2 separate regions of the Homo sapiens genome follow, and region 2 is linked to region 1. Evidence: promoter capture Hi-C in 16 types of primary human blood cells and fetal thymus (Javierre and others, 2016). All regions are on one chromosome and are shown on one strand. The core of a region is centred on a gene start or on the middle of the fragment in contact, and the rest is flanking DNA. Distances in the headings are between cores, read along the strand shown.

Region 1 (3,249 bases), core at 71-2,570:
AGCTAATTTTTTCTATTTTTAGTAGAGACAGGGCTTCGCCGTGTTGCCCAGACTGGTCTCGAACTCCTGACCTCAAGTGATCCACCCGCCTCCCAAAGTGCTGGGATTACAGGCATGAGCCACCGCGCCGGGCAGCTTACAGATTCTTGCAATAGTACTTAACCACACGCCCTCCTAGCCCCAAAGTAACGAATCACAGATATTTTTAAAAAAGAATCAAAGCACTCTGGTCCAAGGCAGACCAGAGTTAAGTAAGCATCTGGTAGGTGTCATAGTCCAGCAATACTGTAAGTTTATGGGAAAGGGCCTATGGAAACCAATGACTGTATATAGTTCAAGTTAAGTGGTTCAAAAATTTCGTTCATTATTCTCTGCCATGTACACAAGCCTCAGACCCTCTAATTCCAAGGAAAATTATCCTTGGCCTCTGAATTCTGTGAATTGTGTACATTAAGGGAGATCTGTCCTTGGCAAGCAGAACACGTTGTTGGCAAGCTGCAAATACCTTCCACCCTTTTGCCAAAGTCCCCTCACAGGGCAGGCTCAATTCCTCAACCTTCAGACCCAAAACGGCTTGGTATTACACAACAATCCAACAAGAAAGCAAATAAGTATGTACGTTGGAAGAGATTACACCACTTTTATAGTTACTGGGCTGGAGCCACTCATTTTTCAGCGGAGAGGGTTAGAACTGGGTAATGAAGGTAAATCCCGAGGAGTCCAGGAATAGCAGATTCACTGATTCACTGACTCTCTGGGACTCGGGCTGCCAAAAATAAAATCCCAGTACTGGGGGCTCCGATCAGTCTTGGTGACCAGCACTAGGCAGCTTCAACCTCGGGTGCCTGAAAGTGCTGGGTGTCCAGTGGCATAAGTCTTCTTTGATACCCAGTCCTCTACACCAACAAAGCCGAGGTCCGGAATGACAGTCCCCAGAGAAGCGGAGTCACCCTTCTCCCATCCGGCTAGGCCACAGGAACCTGAGAAAATCAAGGGTTGCTGCCAGGTGCCCGCCCCCCACCCCGAATCCCCGACGTTGTCGCGAGTCCCGCGGTACAAGGACAGAGGGAAAGTAGGTACAGTGTTCAGGTCCCAGCCCCAGGCTCCTCACCCAACAAAGTTCAGTCATCTGGTGCACCAGCTGCTGGAAGCGCTGCTTTTGAGTCTCTACCTCGATGAAATGCTGCAACTGCGGGTCCACTGCACCCAAACCCGCCGCGGAGGAAGAGGAGGAGGAATCCATCCCAGGGCGACCAAGCTTGCAGAGACGAACTCCGCACCGACCTTCACGTGTCTCCGCGACGGAACCGGAACCACAGCTAGCTGCCTCTGGGACCGCCCCCGTGAGTGCACTGCGTCGGCGCGAGGCAGGCGTCCAACTCCACCCCGCCGCCTCCCACACCTTGGCGCCGGTGCTTCGTTCCCGGAGTCGGCGGGTTCCACTCCCCGGACCCCGCAATCCCGTAACCCCGCAACCCTGCCGTTGCGCCCAGCCTTGCGCCTTGAGATCGCAGGGCTTACAGCCCAGAGCCGAGGTGCCGTTGAGATGTTACTCCAAAAAGAAAAGAAAGGAGAAAAGGAAGTTACTTCAGACCACGTGATCCATTCCGTGCTGGCCCCACAGCTCCGCCCCTGTCCACTTCCAAATTAGCCCGCGTTTTCTGAGCTACCAGAGTTGTGCACTGGGTCAGTTAGTTGACTGGGTCGATTAGTTGGCTATCCTGGGCCCCTGGCTTTCGTTTTTTGATGGAGTTTTCCTCTCCCGACGTAGGGAAATGAGGCTATGGCAGTTTGTGCCCAACTTTCAGATTCATTCAAATAACATTGCATGCGTGCTGTGACAGGCACTGTTTTTGCTTAATGCATCTTTGATTCAGAGGCAGGAGTTAACAAGAGGGCTTAAACCTGGAGGATCCTGTCGAGTTCTCAGTGTAGGAATATGCCAAACTAATGCTACACAGCAGCTTTCTGGAATACTGAGATAGGGCGCTTCAGGGAGGCTGCATGATTAATAGAGATACCAAAGACTTTCAAGCTTTCTAGTAATTTTATTTTATCAAAACACCCTCCCCTCCCATCTTTATGACACCATTTCATTCTTGCCAAATTCGGTCCACCCCCACACACACACCCCCAAGCTCTACCAAATGCCTACTCAAAGAGCTGTTGGACCCCTTTGTGCGGCTATTTACATCCTCCCTCCTAAAAAATATTTTCATCGCAAATTCAGTCTGTCTTAATTCTCTCGGGAAATTTCAGGCACAATAATTTCTTGGCCTTTGCTCAGAAGCCACTATCCCAGGGAATCAAAGAAGAGGTGCATTCCCAGATGTAGAGAGGGGCCTTTTTGTATTGAGTGGGAGCACAAAGGCTCCAGGGCTCCTAAGCTTGGGATTTCCTCTGAGAAAGTGAAATTGGGGCTTGTGGAGAAGAGAAGTAGAACCAAGAAGCTTATTGGCGAGCTCAGGATTCTTCATCCATGACATCTAGAATATTGCTCAGAAGAATTTTGAAAGTGGGACGCTCATCTGCTTTCTAAAACCAAAGAAAAAGTAAAGTGTTAGAGTGGCTAGAATCCAGAATTCAAGGGAAATGCAATGAGTAAGCAGCAAATGTTTATTAAATATATGCTCTATGCCCAGTAGCATGCCCTGTCGATTACAAAAGGAAAAAAAAAAAAAAAAGAAATAGCAGCTCTCCATAAAGTCTTTGTGCACTTTTCATCTTTAGTAACTCAGGTTATTAGTGTGATAAGAACAATTTGCAAATTAAACTGACAATCACACTGATCAAAATTGAGGGCAAGTTCATTATGTAACTGTATACAACACATTCTTATTTTGGATCCTCAAGTGAAAAATGGCTACCAAACAAGTTCAAGTGGTTGGCAGAACAGAAATCCCATGTGATAATTTTTAGTGATTAATATTTCAAAACCACAGGCTGTATTACTGAGCAGGGATTCTGAGTACCTGGGACCTTTTTTTTTTTTTTTTTTTTTTTACCACTGGTAACAAAAAGACTAAGGTTTTTTTTTTTTTTTCTTTTTGAGACAGAGTCTCACCCTGTTGTCCAGGCTGGAGTGCAGTGGTGTGAGCTCAGCTCACTGCCACCTCCCAGGTTCAAGCGATTTTCCTGCCTCAGCCTCCCAGGTAGCTGGGATTACAGGTGCACGCCATCACGCCCAGCTAATTTTCGTATTTTTAGTATAGACCGGGTTTCACCATGTTGGTCAGACTAGTCTCGAAT
Region 2 (3,444 bases), core at 250-2,749, 710 kb before region 1:
TCTATCACCAGCAGAGCCCGCAGCGCTCTGAGATTGGGCCTCCCTGGCCCCTGGTGCCCTAGAGAGAAGGAAAAGAATGAAGAGGTTAAAAGCGACCTAAGAAAATACATGGGAAAATACCCACAAGAAATATATTTGCAAAAAGAAAGCGGATTGCAAAGCAATACATACAGTCACGTGTGCTTAGACAAAAACTGAAAGGAACAGTGAAATTTACCTCTGGTGGAATTAGGCTGATTTTTTTCTCACTTGTGTGCTTTTCAATTTGTGAACATTGTTTTATGGGTTAGGAAGGGGAGATGTGAATGGAGGAAAATAATCACCACTTGTTGAAAGAATTTCTAAGCTAGGTATTAAAGATAATAATGACTTTAGAATTTACCTGCAGGACTTTGCAAAACCCCAGTATTCCTCTCCTTTTTTATCCCCTAAGTAATTGGAAAGTTGAGGGAAAGTATTTTTACATAATAGTGAAATGTAAGTTCAGCTATTCGCTGTAAACTTTTAAAAAGAGAGAGTGCAATGGAAAAATCCCTGGTGAGTGTGACCTCCTCTTAAATGTTAAAACAGAAAGGCACTGTACATTCCAGCCACCTGGTTTTTCCCATCAAAACCCAGCTGATTACAGAGAGATTAAAACCTAATGTTATATATTGTGAATATATTGGTCTATGTTGTTACAACACAGGAGGTGCGTTAAGGTCTGATTTCTCAACTAAAGCGTCAGCTCTTTGAAGGCAGAGACTGAGTGTTAAGTGAGTTTGTGTTATCTCTAGAGGAACGGGGTTAGAAGGCTGTATCAGTTCCCTATGCAATCCAACCCTTCATCATTGACACAAGCTTAATATCACAAGTGGCTATTTACTCTATTGCCATTGCAAAAAGACCTGCATTTGTGGAGGAGAGATGAATACTCAAACTTTTCTGCTTGAAACGTTGCTTTAAACATACACCTCAGGACCAGAACACAGGAAAGTTCCATTGACTTGGTCACACAGAGCTTCCCTGTGCTTCGAATATTGACCTAGGACCAGTTCCTATAACATCTTGCCAGACGTCTGAGGTGCAAGGCAGCAACTGTTGGAAAATTAATTATTGCATTGCCAGGCTTTATACTAAAATTTTTACTAAAATTTGAAAGGCCTAATACACAAATACATGGAGAGAATGGATAAACGATACATCTACATACACCTTCAAACACTTTGAGGTAAAGTCGTTAGGAAATACCAAATATTCAACATGGTGGAGGGGGGTGTCTAAGTATATGCAAAGATTTCTCCCTAGGCTAAATGACCCCAACTGAAGGGTTCTTATACTAAAAACAAGGATCAAGGGAAGTCTTGATAACTTCTTGTCATCTTAAAGAGAAGTTTCTCTGAAACTTAGATATGTACTGAAAGGGATTTACAGTGTGAGCCCAAGAGCAAAGAAATATGTCTGTAGCTGAAGAAAAAACAAAATAGCAAAGCAAAAGCCACATCTTATTTCCAAGAATGTGTTGACTTTCCTCCTCTCCCTTCCTCTACCACTCACAACGCTGCTTTGTTTGAATAACACTCGGTGCCAAATTAAACCAAATGCTGACATGGAAATTCATATTCCTATGGCTACAACACCTTGCACCATTGCCTCCTACTCTGCTACACCCACTTCCATCTCCCCACCCCCACAATGCCACCAAACCGAGAAATTCAATTTAGTTCAAACCTAGGCCTGGGTTTGGGTACAAACCCAGACCAAAGGGGCATCTAATCCCGTTTAAGGCAATTTAAGAAGTATTTCCCTAGGCCACTAGATAAATGTATTCTTTAAAGTATTAATAATGACTGTGATAATAAGTATTGACTGTATACCAACCACTATTGCTAAGAGCTTGATACACATTACCTCGTATGCACACATCACAAGAACCCTATTATGAGGTTGACACACCTAGCACCTTCATTTTACAGATGAAGAAACAGGTTGAAAGAGACCAAGTAAGCTGCCTAGGACTAAACCTGGGCAACTTCTGTGTCTTTCATCAGAAATGGGGCCCACTTTGTGATGAAACATAGCTGCTGTTGTACGTACAGCTGCCTCTGCGCAGAGTAACCTGAGTAAAGACTGCTGTTGCACAGACATTTAACCTAAAACAAGGACTCCTCGGAGCCTCTGAAGCTTAAGAACCTCAATGATTGCCCCAATTCTGCCTTGCACTTGGGGTTTTTTGGTTGAGTTTGGCTTTTGCCTTCACTCCAATAGCCCAGCCACCTAGGAAGTAACCCTACCTGCCCCAGAGTGGTAAGGCAGAGAGTTCAGTACTTTTTCTTGTTCAACCTCTTAATTTCTCCCTCTTTCTGAGCACAGAAACACAATTTGATGCCAACAATGTAGGAAAAAAGGAAAATACTTTAAGTATTGTTACTGCTTGTTTTACATGGAACATTTAGTAGCCCCCCTTCCCAATTAATTTCCTGTAACCTTCAAGATTAGGTGTAAATGTTTTTCATTGCTAGACATCAGGCAAGGGAAATGACATAAACAAGGGCTCACTGTTAAGTCAGACCTCCCTTGTGCCACCTCCAGCCTCCCTCCATCCCTACCAAGCCCCTCATCCCAATACAATCTCAACTGATTTCCTACTGCTTTTCCAATGTGAATTTTCTGCTCTGTACCAGGTCAGTATGATCAACCCCCCAATTAAACAAGTCCTATTCCCTAGTCCCTGCCCACCCTCAACTTCACTCATACTTTCTGCTTCTACTGAATATCCAGTTCAATCCCAACTCAGTAAAAAGTCCCTCCTTCCTCACCTCTTTCTCTAACACCATAACTGTCTTAACTACACACTCACTCCCATTAACCCAGCCCTTTAGTCAATTACTGCAATATCTGCTTTGCATTTCTACTTACCTATTCTACATCCTACCGTCTAGATGTTCAGAAACTACTGAAGAGCTAGTGTGGCAGGGCCCCTATGCCCCCTTTTATACTCTCCTCAGTACCCTAGGACATAATGCCCAATTGATGAGTTCATTTTCTGCTCGGCCAATCCCTGTTGAGCTGATTGCTCATTGAGGTCATAACTGGTCTCTGGGAGCAACCACATAGTAATTACTCAGGATTGATTGTTGAAATTAAATAAAAAATTAAATGTCTAAGCCATCCCAGTATCACACTATAATAAAACAGAAAAAATTAAATTGAGTACCTAGATAATGTCTTGGGACATTCCTCTCTCTCTCAGGAACCACTAAAATAATAACAACAACAATAATAATAATAATAAACTGTATCGCTGAGTGTACATCTTATCTCTTATTCACATAATAACTTTACCATTTTCATTTTCTAATCCCTTTTCTAGCATCCCTTCAATTACCTTTGGCTAAGTGCCTATCATAGAATTTAAAGGCGCATCCTACTTATTTTCTTAATATCTCATATTTTATGTTACAG

The links. Contacts are between HindIII fragments. The CHiCAGO score rates a contact against its expected background, and 5 or more counts as called.
Region 2: a fragment that was not itself captured here is called in contact with the fragment with the promoter of TIMM8A in region 1 in 3 of 17 cell types (fetal thymus, non-activated CD4 T cells and naive CD8 T cells); the score reaches 6.9 in fetal thymus.

Annotation. Positions count from the first base shown.
Region 1 is chrX:101,347,422-101,350,670 of GRCh38, forward strand. TIMM8A (translocase of inner mitochondrial membrane 8A) reads right to left here and starts at 1,321. Exons shown (of 2, transcript NM_004085.4): 1 at 1,112-1,321. The coding sequence starts at 1,243. BTK (Bruton tyrosine kinase) reads right to left here. Exons shown (of 19, transcript NM_000061.3): 19 at 2,029-2,535. The coding sequence ends at 2,464. RefSeq lists an enhancer at 1,243-1,292. The HindIII fragment of the contact is 777 bases long and covers 1,257-2,033 here.
Region 2 is chrX:100,637,047-100,640,490 of GRCh38, forward strand. It overlaps a transcript of TSPAN6 not described here. Among named protein-coding and RNA genes, the nearest start is that of TSPAN6, 2.0 kb to the left of the region's middle. The HindIII fragment of the contact is 1,323 bases long and covers 839-2,161 here.